Regions from separate parts of the Homo sapiens genome. Here all the other regions are linked to region 2. Evidence: promoter capture Hi-C in 16 types of primary human blood cells and fetal thymus (Javierre and others, 2016). All regions are on one chromosome and are shown on one strand. The core of a region is centred on a gene start or on the middle of the fragment in contact, and the rest is flanking DNA. Distances in the headings are between cores, read along the strand shown.

Region 1 (3,686 bases), core at 1,119-3,618, 780 kb before region 2:
TGAACAGAAGAAAAGGTAGATTGGGGGCTGGGCATGGTGGTTCACGCCTGTAATCCCAGCACTTTGGGAGGCAGAGGTGGGCGGATCACGAGGTCAAGAGATCAAGACCATCCTGACCAATATGGTGAAACCCTATCTCTACTAAAAATACAAAAATTAGCTGGGCATGATGGCATGCGCCTGTAGCCCCAGCTACTCGGGAGGCTGAGGCAGAAGAATCACTTGAACTCGGGAGGCAGAGGTTGTGGTGAGCCGAGATTGCACCACTGCACTTCAGCCTGGCAACAGAGTGAGACTCCATCTCAAAAAAAAAAAAAAAAAAAAAAGAAGAGAAAAGAAGATAAAAGAAAAGAAAAGGTAGGTTGGGGCAGTAACCCAGGGATGGGTGACTCACAGTGGGAAGGGAAGGAGGGAAGGGTGGTGAGGAAGTGCTGGGAAGGTGGATGCAGCAGGACAACACACATGTGTAGGAGTCTCTGCAGAAAGGGTGCGGAATGCTGTCTAATTTAACCAGTAAACCCTGAACACCACTGTCTCCTCTATCAGGGACTCTATAATGAAACGGCCACCATGCAGAGAAGAGACAGATTCTGGTCTAAGTAGAGTTGTTACCTAGGAGCCTGGCTTGCTTCATGGTCAGCACAATAACGCTGACCAGAGTTCGGTTCCCTCGGATGTGGGATTAGACAAAGGGTATGGAAATGAAGATCATGGCACAGCAAACCAAGAGTGGAGGAGACAGGGATTTGGGTCTGTATCCCCAAGGACCTTCAAAGAAACAGTCAACAATCACCTTTCTGAAAGTAGTCAGGTACCCACTGACCACAGGGATATCGTCAGATTCCCAGTGACCTCCCTCTGGAGCTCGTTCAGCTCTGAAAGTTAGTGATGCAAAAGCTCTTCCCCCTCAGCCATCACGACGTTCATTCTCCAGTTGCAGGTTCACAGCTTTTATCTCCACAGGAGCAGTCCTTTAAGGTTGATCGCTTAGCAATGGATGACCCGAGGTGTATAACTAGTTCTTATCTCCAAGTTCAAGTCCCTGAATAGGGCCTACAGTAAATAGTCCTCTGGCTTGTTCAGTCTGCTTTAAATTCTTTACAGGTCAGATACCAATATTTGTATTGGTTCTCATAATCACAGTAGCAGTGGTCAAAACAGGTTATTTCAGGTACAAACTGAGTCGCGAAAACATACTTGACTAGTAGTGGAGCTGTGGAAGTGTGCTCTCTCCCAGGTCACGCTCAAATTATGGGCCCATGGAAGACCACCATCAGAGCGGCATGGGAGGTGTCTGAGTTTGCCACCCTTGCCTTCCCTGGGTTGGGCAGAGAGGGAGTCCCAACCAACATCCTCACAGTCACCCTCTTCTCCATCCACCTGGATGGGCCATACCTTCCAAATCCACCATATCCTAAAATGTGAAAACAAAGCAGCTCCAGGACCCACTGTCTTAACCAGGTAGCATCAGTCAGCTGGCTTGTCTGACAGAGAGATTGTGCCAATGAATTTGGCCAGTGTTGTGATCTTTTAACACAGTTTATAATACTAGCTCACAACCCCTGGCTTTGCAACTCAGTCAGAGGCACCTATGAGATGTCTTAACATAAACAAACAAATACAAAATTAAAAAGTAAAAAAATTTTTAAAACCCTAGCCAAATGTTTTGGAAATAGTTTTTATTTTTTTAGTTTATATGGAAATATTTTTTAAATGCTCACAGAATTACAAAATCTCTAAAGCTTGAGTCAAACATGAATTTCTATTTTCCACTCGCAATACACGTGGTGGATGTCTTTAGGACCAATCTTGCAGACTCTAGGCACTGGGTCTTGCCCATGTTTCAATGGCCTGTGAAATCTTTTACATGACAGAGATGACTTACTACCTCTTAGTACCCCTTAGCTGCTAAGCCTTTCCATCATGCTTCCCAGGAGCAAGACAGTAAACTTTTTCTCTGACGTTAGAGAAGAGAAAATTGCCAGCCTGAAGTCACTAGGCAGTAACCAGGGCAGTGTCAGTATTTGAACAGCCTGAGAAGCTTCCTCATTCATTCTCTTTAGCTCCCTGGGCCCCCAGTCTTTCTCATTAGAAAGAAAGAGTAGTTGCCAAGCCTAGATCTTGAACCAGTTCGAACTGAGACTTGTGTATTCCGGATATGTGATAGAGTTTAACATGAATTCTGGAAGCATGTATGAATATGGAGAAACCATCCCACCACCCTGAACACAATGTCATCAGCTGTGAGGCTGGTACAATGATACCTAGCTTATCGGGCTGATGTAAGTCCCAGGGAGAGGACAAATGCTAAAGGCAAGCTATACCCTTCTGGGAAATGCCCTCTCTCCCTGCTCATTATTCGTCTGGCAAACATCTAATTCCCCTTTGCCATGTGGCCATTCCTCTGGAAAGCATCTTTATGCCTTTCATGGGGGATTGAGTTCCTCCCCACCCCTGCTCCTACGCCCTGTATTGCTAGAAGTGGTTCCTCTACCATAAAATCTATCACATTAGGGAAAACATTTATGTGTACATATGTGTCTCTCTGGCTCTAGGTCACTCTACTGAAACATCTAGAACTGGAGGCAAAACATTTCGGTTTGTTCACCATCATACCATCCGTGGCTGGCACAGAGGAGGCACTCAGCAAATGAACAAACCAAGCTGAATGAAGAAGTAAACTTTCTGAAGACAGGAAGCTTACTGAAGCCTGGTTCATCTATATATTCCCAGAGTCTAACACCACGCTTGGCACTAATGGGCACTTGATAGATGTTTATTTTTGCATGAATGGCATGTAAATTTATTACCTAATTAAATCATTTGGAGGACAGGCAGTAAGATTCAGATGTAAATACTACTGGTTGCATGCTTCTGCTCTGCAAGACTGGCTTCTTGTGACATACTGATAATCGGTCACTGTGAATCTGGGGAGTGTCCTTGTTTTGTGCTCTTCCCCCGAGGAGGGACAGATCCTTCTGTTAGTTCAAAAGTCGGCCTATTCCTAACTGCCAGGCATCCAGGATGCCTTCTTTGCCCATCTGTCTTTCTGAAAAGCTAGTTAAAGGGCTAATCTGCTCTTAATTCCTTTAGTGTGGTCTTTGAATGAAATGGTTTGAGTGGATTTAGTCTCCAAATCAACAGAGGCAGAATAAGACTGTCTGGGACTGGCTTCAGCTCCGGGATCAGCTCTCTTTGTATCACGTGACTTAGGGCACGGATCTCAGCAGGACATCTGGGATGTCTCTCAATGAAGAGATCACACAGGGGTGTTTTCGTACCTGGCCTAGTTGTAATTCTTTGCGTAGCTTCAGGATATACTGAAGTATTTGGGAAAATAAAAGCTGCACCCCCTGCAGACAAAAGGAAAGACAAACATGTGAAGGTCTTTTGTTGTGGTTGTCGATCTCAACATCAGCGCCAAATCTACTTTTCCCTATGACAACAAAGGGAAGAGACCTCCTCAAACCTGCCTTAACAGAGCTCCGGAGAAACAGACAGGTGCACCTGTCAGATTCTCAAGATGGAAGTGAAACTTGGAGCCTTGGTGTACTCCTGTGCCCCGTTTGCTATAAAGCGTTTTGTGTTTTGATTTTATAACTTCTTGATGAAGCCCTATCTGTGTCCCCCTCAATCCCACTTCCCACTGGGCAATCTCGTTTTATTAAAAAATTATATGGTACATG
Region 2 (3,408 bases), core at 36-2,535:
AAACAGAAAGCACCACTTAGTAGAAGCATTCTTGCCGACAAAACTTTGAATGAGAATCTGACCAAGCCTCCAAATGAACATTCATTTTACAGGACATGCAGGTGATACAAACGTTAAGTGACACCACAACGAAGCTATCAGACAAATTCAGAGTGTGGGGGCACTGGACAAGACAATCAGTCCTGTCTCTTAGGAGGGGTAAGAGGAGGTTGCTCTAAATGAAGTGACACGTCTAAATGTAACCTGTGGACCCTGTTAGGATTCTCATTCACGCAGACCACTGTAAAATGTCATGTTTGAAAAAACTAGGTAAACGTGAGTGAGCATGGACTACAAAATGATACTGGAAAATTAGTATTAGTGTTGTTAGGGGTGATAATAGCATATGTAAGAAAATCCCTAAAACGTTTGAGATGTATTCTGAAAAATGTAGAGGTGAAAGGCCATGATGACTGGAATTCGCTTAGGAGTGGCGGGAGAGAAAATAAACGTGGCAAAATCTTCCTGTTGAATTTACCCGGTTGTGTAGGGGTCAGGGCTCACTTGACTATTTTCTCCCACTTTTTTGTGTTTGGAAACAATTTTTTTAAAGCGTGTTCATCGGCTACTGACACATCATGCTAATTGAAGTGTTGGGTGCAGGTTTAAAAAGTTTCGAGGGAATTGGTGTGTCCGTGAACAATCCACGACAAACGTGGTGGGGCCCGCGGGAGCGCTGCGGCCCAAGACAGTGTGACAAGCGGGAAGATCACGAGTCCGCAAGACACCAAGCCTCCAGAAATGCTCCAGAAACGCTCCAGAAAGCCTTTAAAGAACGGATTTGAACCCAGCCCTCCCACAGCGGCTTCACCCTGGACTCCACGAAACGCCAGCAGATCCACGCGAGAACCACACACACCTGGGGCTGGCGCCGCTGGACGCCGCGGCTTCACGGAGACCCAGGGCCCAAGCAGAGCCAAGGAGCGGCGGCAACCGCGGGGGCCACTCGGAAGACCGCGGAGCCCCGGCCTTAGGCGCCGTCGCGGCTGCCAGGCCCGCGCACCTTCCAGCTGCGGTGAGCGCGCTGCCCTTATCCCGGTGCCTCACCTCTTCCGCGCCAGCTGCAGACGCACCTCCCTGTCCTCGGGCGTCTCCCTCCGCCCCTCCTCCTCCTCCTCTTCGTCCTCAGTCCCAGCTCGGCACGGCGCCTTCACCACCTCTCCGAAGAACGTGGCCGCCATAGCCGCCCCGTGACCGGCTGGACACAACTGCAGCGCCGCGGGACCGCACGCCGGCTTGCGCGAGACCACGCTCCCTCACCGCGCGGGCAATAAGTCCCGCCCCGCACAGGCCACGCCCTCCGCGCACAGCCCAAGCTCGCGGCCACACCCCCACCGCGCGGGCGCTACGTCCCGCCCCGCACAGGGCTCGCTCCCAGGCACACCCTGAGCTCGCGGCCACGCCCTCTACACCGCCCGCCCGCGCTGTCATGCCCTGGGCCAGCAGTCCCCGCAGCTTTTTTGTTTTTAAATTACAGATTGGGGGAGGGGGTCTCGCTATGTTGCCCAGACTGGTCTCGAACTCCAGGACTCTAGCGATCGTCCTCCTTAGACCTCCCAAAGTGCTTGGATTACAGGCCTCAGCCACCGCGTCCGGCCCCCAAAGGCTTTCATTCGCAGCTTGAGCCCTGCGGGCGCCAGGAGGTGGGAGGACTGCGGGCTAGAGGGGCAGGGGGCGAGAGGAGGGCGGGGCCTCCGTTCGTGGCGGTAGCGGAACCAGGGGTGCAGGGGCGGAGCCAGCGCCGCTGGCCGTGGCGTCCGGGAGCTGTGGGGCCGTCCCCTCATCGTCCGTTTCCATTTTCCTTCTGCGTTAGGAGAGACTGGGGTAGCATTAGTGTACTGAGCACCCGCTCCAAATTTCGACTGCCCAGGTAGGTGGCGGCGCGGTGGTACTGAGGGCCCCCGTAGCCAGGCGCGCCCTCAGACAGCGGGCACGGGCGGACGCAAGGGCAGCAAGAAATACAGCGCTTCGTGGTGGTATAAAAACGAGACCTTTACTCTGGCAATAGGAATTCACATTTCAAAAGCTGATGATTGTCAAGGCGATTTAAAAAACATTTTTATGAGTGTAAAAAATAGTGTTTTAAAGTTGGCCATTTTCTAATACAAAATGTTTCTTTTTAAATAGCCTTTAATAAGCAGAATGTGTGATTGTTCTTTAATTGGTTCTCTTTAAAATGTGCTGGAAGACAAAGTTCGAGGAGCACTGTTTCAAGCAAGAGAAAAAGGGGACATAATTTAAATGAAAATGAAAATATGCAGTAATGCAATGAAAAAACCGTTTCCTAGATTTAGTTGTACCGAAATACATGACATCGCCTGCATTTTGTGACTTTGTCAGTAGTCACGAAGGTAAGTACTACTTTGGGGTCAGAGAGAGCCTGTTGAGATAAAATCTCAAAGCTGTTAGAAACATTTTAAGATGTGGAAAGATAATCAACAAAATCATTTACATAAAATTAGTACTTAGCAGATGTACACATCTGCAAAAATAAAGTGAGTTTGGAAGCAAAATTTGAACATTTAGCAATAAAATTAAGACGAAATTGCTAGCCAGTAAGAGCTTAGGAAACTGGATATCCTTAGTGAGATAGAATAAACAAGATCACCACAATGATGTTTTAAAACATTAGGACTCCTGGGTTAACTGGTCTATTATGATGATGGAACTGCAGAATAAAAAGGTTGTTTGGGCACCACTTGTCTTAGTCCTTTTGTTAATTTGTCATTTTTACCAGTAAGATCTTCAATTTGATTTCACAGTTCCATGATGAAGAAATATTTTCTGCAAAGCAAATTACTGTAAATAGGGTAATAGTAATACATTTGGCCATGATTTAAATTCTGCACACATTTCAGAGAGAACAATTTTACAATGTTAAGTTTTAAGCAAATGCTTATTTCATGCAGTTACAATAAGTTTAGGCCAAGCACTTTTTAAAAAGGCAAATATGTTCGAATTAAATACTTAGCCAAAAAAGGATTTCATTATGCAAGACTGATAATACAATCTCAAATACTGACAGAAATTAACCCCACCACAGCAAATTATAAATTCAAAGCTTAAATTCTTTCATTACACTGAAATTGCTAAAAAAAAAAAAAAAAAAAAAAAAAAACTTTGCATAAAATAGTCTTCACCGAGTTAAGTATTTCATTTTATAGTTACTTGTTGAGGACATAATATACTCAATAAATATTATAAATTAAGTGTAAAATTTGAACTGGAAAGAAGTTTAAGCATTTCATTAGAGCTCAAAAATCAAACCCCATGCACCTAAAAGTAATAGCAGTTTATTAGGAATTCTTCCCTTTCTCACCTGTGTATCAACATATTGGGGATCAGTAATTTAGATGAAAGTATACTACA
Region 3 (3,357 bases), core at 68-2,567, 810 kb before region 2:
TAACTTAACAATTCAGCCTCCTTCCAACTGTCTTACCCCTTCTATCTAGTTTCTTCCTGCCTTAATTAACTTCCTAGCATCATATGAATAATCATTTGTTTGTTTGCTCATCCTATTGTGGTTGCCCATCCTATGATCTTAACAAGTACTCAGCCTTCCTTGAATGAAAGCTATAGACCCTCTGTTAGTATTTTCTTTTTAATTGGGGTAGGGTGGCTTAGTGAACATGGACCTGACAGTGTTGGTTTAAAATCCAGTGACCATTGCATAGTTCCACTTTAAAATGCCCTATGTCACATTAGTGTGAATGCACAGAGGCACAGACAGGCCCAGGGTCTCAGGTTAGAAAATATGATGAGGGGAGGGGTTTCTTCTAAAGAGAACTGTGGAATTGTCGGATGTGAATCTGGGCCTGTTGTTCGTTTCTCGCTATGCATGTTTCCATGGGACGGACACTCAGTTGTTACTCTCGCTCTCTCCCACCACTTCCGCTCTCTTTCACAGGAAGAGGCGGGTCCTACCCTGATGGAAACCGGTTCTGGTCTCTGTCCAATGGGAGTCGCTTCCTGTCCTGCACCTTCCCAACCACATCAGTGAAAGGGTGGAAGTGCTGGTCTGCCCACTGCAGGCTTAACCCATGTTCTTCCTACTAGGAAAGGGACGTTTCCATTTTCATCCACCTGACTCCCGAGTTGGTTGCAAAGATGGAAGAAAGGAACAGCCATTTATTCTCCTGGAGGCAGGCCCTGCCGGACTTGAGAGGGCCTTTCCTCTGACCCTAAGCATCAGAGCGGATGGAGACAGAAAATCCTGAGGCCGCTGTATGGTGGGTCTCTTCACAGCCATGGGGCCCAGCCCCACTCGCCTCCACCAGGTTATGGCCCAGCAGCTGGGACTCCGTCCAGAAGAGCACCTGCAGCACGTATCCTGTGTTCTCCATCAAAGCGGCCTGGAGTCCGCCTGCGTCCCCAGCAAGCAGCACTCCCGCCCTAAAACCAAAGGGCGCAGCAAGGAAATGGGAGGGCTGCGCTTTGCTTCCTGTCTGATAACTACCAACAACCGGGCTTCTGCCCAGCATAGCTAGATAAGGGGAGGGCACTCCATTTGACATGCCCTGAAGACTGTCCAAGCGATGGCTTAGGAAGGCCATTCCAATTTCAAGTCCTGAAAGCTGTAAGATTTTTCTGTGACTTAGAGTGATTTATAACATAGTTTAACCTCTCAAAGCTTCACATCTGTAAAATATGGATAAAACTATCTCAAAGCGGTATTGTGCAAGTTAAATGAAAAAGATAGTGTATGCACATTGTTTGGCACTAAGCTATTATTATTATCAAAAGTAGTAGCAATTAGTATTATTGTTTAAAGGAGAAAATGATATCCATTGGGAGGCTCCTCTTTGGACCTGAAAGCTTAATATCTGGAATTACTTAGAACTGGAATGCCAGCCTCCGCCTCCTGCCAGCAGCCTGCTGCCAATTCTGATGAGACAGCTTAGAAACCATTGCCCTGATGCCATAGAAAAGAAGAGGACAGCTAGCCTTTTCCTTTCTCTTCACCCTTAATTTAAAAAGGTTGGGCAAGTTACACATCCACCCACCTCCAAACCTTTCAAACAAGTTTCAGTTATATTCTTGCCGAGTAGAAAAACCAAAAATTAATAAGAGAACTTACTTAAAATAAAAAGTTGTTAACATCTTGATACATCCTGGCTTTCCAGTTAAGAGACTTTACAGAATGGTTCGTGACTTCTACACCAAATTCTTTCTTGTATATTTTGTCTACACCCCACCCCTTCCTTAGCCTCAACCTCATGAGTGCAAATGGAGATCAGCCCTGGCTCCTGGCATCCCACGACGACTTGGAGGTGGAAATTGTTAGTCTGGAGTGGGATTGAGGGCCCCTGAGGCAGACTGACACTCTTTCAGCTGATGCATGTCTAATGCTGAGCAGGCTGTGACCAACCACCCTCAGGACATGTTTTTATGCAAGTGTGCTGTAGGGGGTGGTCTTCCTCATAAGTGAGAAAACATGAAAGCAAAGTTCATTTATCCCATCAGTTGGCTGCTTCTCACCATTCACCTGGGCCCTGCAGTGCTGAGAAAATAGGATGTATTTTAATCTCCAAGCAGACTGGACTCCAATCAATTTAGAGACACAGAGCCACAACATAATTCAATTTGGGGTGATTCCACTGTCTCTGTAATGTCTAAAGCCCTAATGTACTGCTGACTCTTAGGACAAACTGGCACTGATCAAGAGTGAGGCCACTAAGCCATCACTGATTTCAGACTCTCACCCCTGACTTTCTATGTATGGACAACACTTAATATTTCACAGAACCCAAGTTGCACTGGACCGAAGAAGACCTAAATAGCCATGTAGTCCATGTGCTGCCAAACACCTGGCAAATAGTTGCATGGTTGTTAAATAAGCACACCTCATATCCAGGAACTCCTGGACAAAGGCTGACCATTCCATCTGGACCTCCTCCAACTTCTAAAAAGCTTTCTCTTGAATTTGGCCAATGGGCATCCCTGCTGAGCCCACCTTTAGTCCAGATGTTACCTTTCTGGATGTTCATTCATGCATATAGCTGCAAACGTTTTCCAACAGCTTGATATTGCTAGGCACTGTGCTGGGTCCTGAATCAATGGGTGATAAGGGTAATCCCACTTTCAGCAGAGACACTGACAGCCCCTACTTGACATGGTCCTGGGTTCTCTCATTCCCCTTGTCTCTCCCCACTGAACCTGCACTAACTGTCCTATGTCCCTCTTTAAGTGTAGGCCCAGAATTGATGTTGCAGTCTAATGTATAACAAATAAGTCCTCGTTTGTGACCTGTTTCAGAAAATGCAACCTAAGATTGGGCAGTCATGTCACCTTCCCGTTTAATTTTCTGTCCATATGAGGCAAAATAGCTTAAGATTAAGAAAAAGCTTTTGGAATTAACTAGCCCTGGAACAAGCATTTGTTGCACCTCTTACGCTGCAGAGCTGGGCAAATTGTTCAATCTGTCAAGACATTTTTTTAAGTGTACCGTAGGGGCAGTTGGAAGGAGTAATGAGGCAGTGTGTATACAGCACCTGACCTAGTCATGGCTCATTAAAAGCTGCTATTCTACATCTCATTGCTGTCATCTCCAAAACGCTGAAGTCTTTTCACATGTGCTGCTGCTCCATCAAACTCCCAGATGTTTTGGGGAGGACTGGATGGAGGTCCTAACACCTTCAAGATCTAACCCGTCACCTCAGCCTGTTCTTTGGCATCCTGGATGTGTCACATAACCTATTGTCATCTCAGCCCCATGGCATTTGGAGCTGAGATCAGGATAGCTTCTGTATCCTCATCTGAG
Region 4 (3,648 bases), core at 572-3,071, 710 kb before region 2:
TAACTTCTAAAACTCTAACTCTCCCCTGAAAACACGTCCTAAGAGTGGTGAGGCTCCCACGTGAGGTGGCAATATTGGTTACCCCCGCTGAGCTCATCACATTGCGCAGGCCTCCACAGGGCAGCTACACTCTACGATAAGGAACATGAAGCCCTGAGAGTCAGGAGGGAGAAAAAAGAAAATGAACGTTTGGAAAAGGGCATTCCCAAATCACAGGAGAAGGGGAAGAAACGTGTCTCAGCTACTAAGTTTCTCTTTTCCATGACGCTCAAAGCAGAAAATGGCTGCACGTGGGCAATTCGTGCGCTTGGAGCTCAGACCTGCAGTCTTGTCGTTTGTCTGCCCTGTCTTGGTGCATGCTGGGCCTGACTTTTTTATTTTTCCATTTCAAGGAGCCCCAGCAGGGCCTGGAGGAAATGAGTTTTGCAGCCCATCTCGGCCCTTGAGCTTGGCTCCTCGGCTGACCTCGGCTCCCCGCCTGCAGACCCGGCATGAGGCAGGCAGCAGGCACTGCGGGGCAGAACTTCCGGGACCTGCAAGACCAGTCCGCTGCCTTCTGAGACGTAGTTCTGAGGTGTAGCAAGTTTTCATTTTCACAGCATAAAACCGTCTACAAATACATACTTCAAAATGAAATGGAGGATGCGCTCAAAAAAAAAAAAAAAAAAAAGGCTTAGAGACACGTCAAAAGGGCACAGGAGCTCAGCCAGGTCAAATAAATTCCCAAATTTGACTCACATCACTTCAGCCTCATCTGGATATTACCCACACTCTGCCTAGGCAGGCGAAGCTTCCGTGGGATCCTCTGTCTTTAGTGAATTCTTTCCTTTATCTTGTCCAGCTTTTCATTGCTCTTTCAGAAACTGAGCCCATGGTTTTAAATCTTAATATGACCTTGCATTCAATTATATATATACATATATATATATATACAAAGCTGTTTTTTAAAGACAATTTTAAATAAGAAAAAAATAATTATTTTAGATACCAGAGAGTGGTGAAATAATAATGATTCAAACTTAATCCTCACTTCACGTAGGGGAAATTGACTCAAATCTGGGAGCATCAAAAATTAAGATGCATTTACAAATCCTAGGAGAAGATATCCTTTGTAATCTCAGAGAAAATAATTGAGAGAGGGAAAATTTTTTTTGAAAGACGTGGTTTGGACATATTACTATTTTGTGAAATGAAGTTAAATGTATGGTACAGATATTAAAGTTCACTTAAGTTTTATCTATATAAAGTGTGTGATTTTGGATCTAAACAGGCATAAATATATATATGTGTGTGTGTGTGTATGTGTACATGTTTGCGTACGTATGCATGTGTATGTGTACATGTTTGCGTATGTATGCATGTGTATGTGTGAGCGTATGTGTGTGTAAGTGTTGTATATGTGTGTATGTGTGTGTATATGTATGTGTGTATATAATAGGAAGTAAGTTGGAAAACATGAGCCAACTGACTTTTTTTTCCTTAGACAGCTAAAGAAGAGTGGTTAGAAGTTTACTCACAAGTAAATCTTTTAAGGAGCGTTTACTTCCCAGAAACAGCAATGAGATCTTGGAGGGGCAATTCTTGTCAACTGTGCATCATCAATGGAGTTTAACTGTGAGAGGTAAAACCCATTGTTGGTCCCGACTCCACCAACCCAAATGGTCATATCTGAGGACTTCCTGTGGTTCTCCCGCCCCCACCCTCTCCACGGCATTTACTGCTCCTGTATACCCTGGACTTCTCGACAGGAAATGGCAAATTCCTCAGTAGGAAAGCCAAGAAGTGGGAGGTCACATGGAGACTGGAAGTTCATTGCGTGCAGCCCCTCCAGGTGACAGGCGACACCGCCTCTGCATGTTGAGTGCCTTTGTGACACATGATCTCCTTGTCTCATGACCACAGGCAGCAGGGTCCTGATGAGTGCCCTGGAGAGAACTGTCCTCCCACCCCTGGGTGACACAGAGTCTCAGAAGCCAGCAGAGGTGCTGCACCAAAGGCTCAGACTTTCACCCTGCCTCTCTTCTCCTCAACTCTTTGCCCTAAAAAACATGTGCTTTGAGGGTGTGTTGAAAATCTCACTAAGTCAAATGATGCCTGTGGGGCAGAAATAACCCTTGCTCTGAAAGGGTCACCAAAAAGTCATGAGACTCCTACCTGTATGGAAGGTGGTGACTATATAGCCCTTGTATAAACAAACAAATACGGTGAAAGACTTGGCTCCATTTTTTTTTTTTTGTCTGTTCGTTATTTTTTGGAGAAAACGTTGTGATAAGAAGCCTTTAGCCTACAAAAATGTCTCTAGATTAATGATAATTTATCTCACTTTTCTCAGTGAAACAGATGAATCAAAGAAAGTGAAGCATCGTAGACAATATAGGACCTTCCTGATAACATCTAACATTTAATAACGTGATCACAGCGTGGCGGCTCTAAAAGACATGCACATGTGAATTAATGCATCTAACCTGCACACTAGCTACCATTATGCCCATTTTAAAGATGAGGAAAACTGAGACTCCAAAAATTAAATAAGTTGCCTAGAGCATCTTGCCAGTTAATGCACCAGAATTCTAAGCCAGCTGCCTGGTTCCAAAGCGCATGCCCATAAACGCGGAACATAATGCACCAAATGGCCTAGAACTGAAACGACTGCAAAAATAAGTCAACATATGAGAAACTAGAGAATATATAAAGCCAGCCCCACCATAATCAGTGGCAAGGGATGGGAGATGGGAAGAAGGGAGAAGGGAAGGGAAGCTAAATAATTTCAGTTTTTCTCTGTGCCTTTAATTCCTGTCCCCTGAAGATGACACGCTCATTTTAGTAGCAACCCATGACCAAGATGCATTCCCCAAGCTTTTCGCACCTGACAGAAAGGGACTCGGTGTCCAGGACTGTGCCCGATTACAATCAAAGCAGATGGACCCTTCCTTAGGGTAGGGCTGTTCTTCTGACAGCCTCCTCTGTGAAACTAGATTATAAGAGGATGTGCTGCTCTCAGACACCCTCTGCCTGTCCCCGCCTTGGGGTCCTTGCCTTTGCCATTCCCCTGGTCCGCATCACTCCTCCGAGGCATTTGCAAACCTTGTTCTCACCTTTTCTTTGGGTCTCTGTCTGACAGGCCTTGCCTGATCATGTTCTCTAAACTAGAGGTCCCGCCCCCCGGCCACCTGGCTCTATCATGTTCCCTACCTTCCCTCCTAAGGCTCCTGACTTCCTGCCACACTCTGTCTTCGTTGAGCTGTGATCTATTTGTCAGTCTCCCCCATCTGCATCCCCCTGATTGACAGCACTGAGTGAGCCCAGCTGTCCTGCTGCTCATGCCCCTCAGCACCCATGAGCCTAGTGGGTGCCCAGTAAATCCTTAGTGAGTAAATGAATGAGTCAATTTCCACACACCAAATCCCAAAGGGATAAAAAGACATTGCCTTTCTGCCATTTCTTGGAAGAATTTTTTGAGACAAACTAAAGAAAGGAAGCTACTTGTTATTAAATTTTTAAAAATCTGCCTACTATTTTCAGGCAAATATGTCATGATGACATCTATGAAATCTCTGAAATTAAAGAGAAGCCTGACGTTTCACAGGAATTAAATGAAGTTGCTGCATCACAGGTGCTCCCTGCCACAGGGCTCCGTGTGGCAGCAGC

What was found. Contacts are between HindIII fragments. The CHiCAGO score rates a contact against its expected background, and 5 or more counts as called.
Region 1: a fragment that was not itself captured here is called in contact with the fragment with the promoter of PSMG1 in region 2 in 1 of 17 cell types (fetal thymus); the score reaches 5.4 in fetal thymus.
Region 3: a fragment that was not itself captured here is called in contact with the fragment with the promoter of PSMG1 in region 2 in 2 of 17 cell types (megakaryocytes and monocytes); the score reaches 7.6 in megakaryocytes.
Region 4: a fragment that was not itself captured here is called in contact with the fragment with the promoter of PSMG1 in region 2 in 4 of 17 cell types (fetal thymus, monocytes, megakaryocytes and 1 more); the score reaches 7.7 in fetal thymus.

The regions. Positions count from the first base shown.
Region 1 is chr21:38,397,293-38,400,978 of GRCh38, forward strand. ERG (ETS transcription factor ERG) reads right to left here. Exons shown (of 10, transcript NM_182918.4): 6 at 3,282-3,353. Among named protein-coding and RNA genes, the nearest start is that of LINC01423, 53 kb to the left of the region's middle. The HindIII fragment of the contact is 658 bases long and covers 2,040-2,697 here.
Region 2 is chr21:39,182,166-39,185,573 of GRCh38, forward strand. It overlaps PSMG1 (proteasome assembly chaperone 1), which reads right to left and starts at 1,286. Exons shown (of 7, transcript NM_003720.4): 1 at 1,087-1,286. The coding sequence starts at 1,220. BRWD1 (bromodomain and WD repeat domain containing 1) reads right to left here. Exons shown (of 41, transcript NM_033656.4): 41 at 3,317-3,408. RefSeq lists silencers at 962-1,041, 1,242-1,461. The HindIII fragment of the contact is 4,125 bases long and covers 1-3,098 here.
Region 3 is chr21:38,375,896-38,379,252 of GRCh38, forward strand. It overlaps a transcript of ERG not described here. Among named protein-coding and RNA genes, the nearest start is that of LINC01423, 31 kb to the left of the region's middle. The HindIII fragment of the contact is 185 bases long and covers 1,226-1,410 here.
Region 4 is chr21:38,472,510-38,476,157 of GRCh38, forward strand. All of the region lies in intron 1 of ERG (ETS transcription factor ERG), which reads right to left. Among named protein-coding and RNA genes, the nearest start is that of ERG, 24 kb to the right of the region's middle. The HindIII fragment of the contact is 2,066 bases long and covers 789-2,854 here.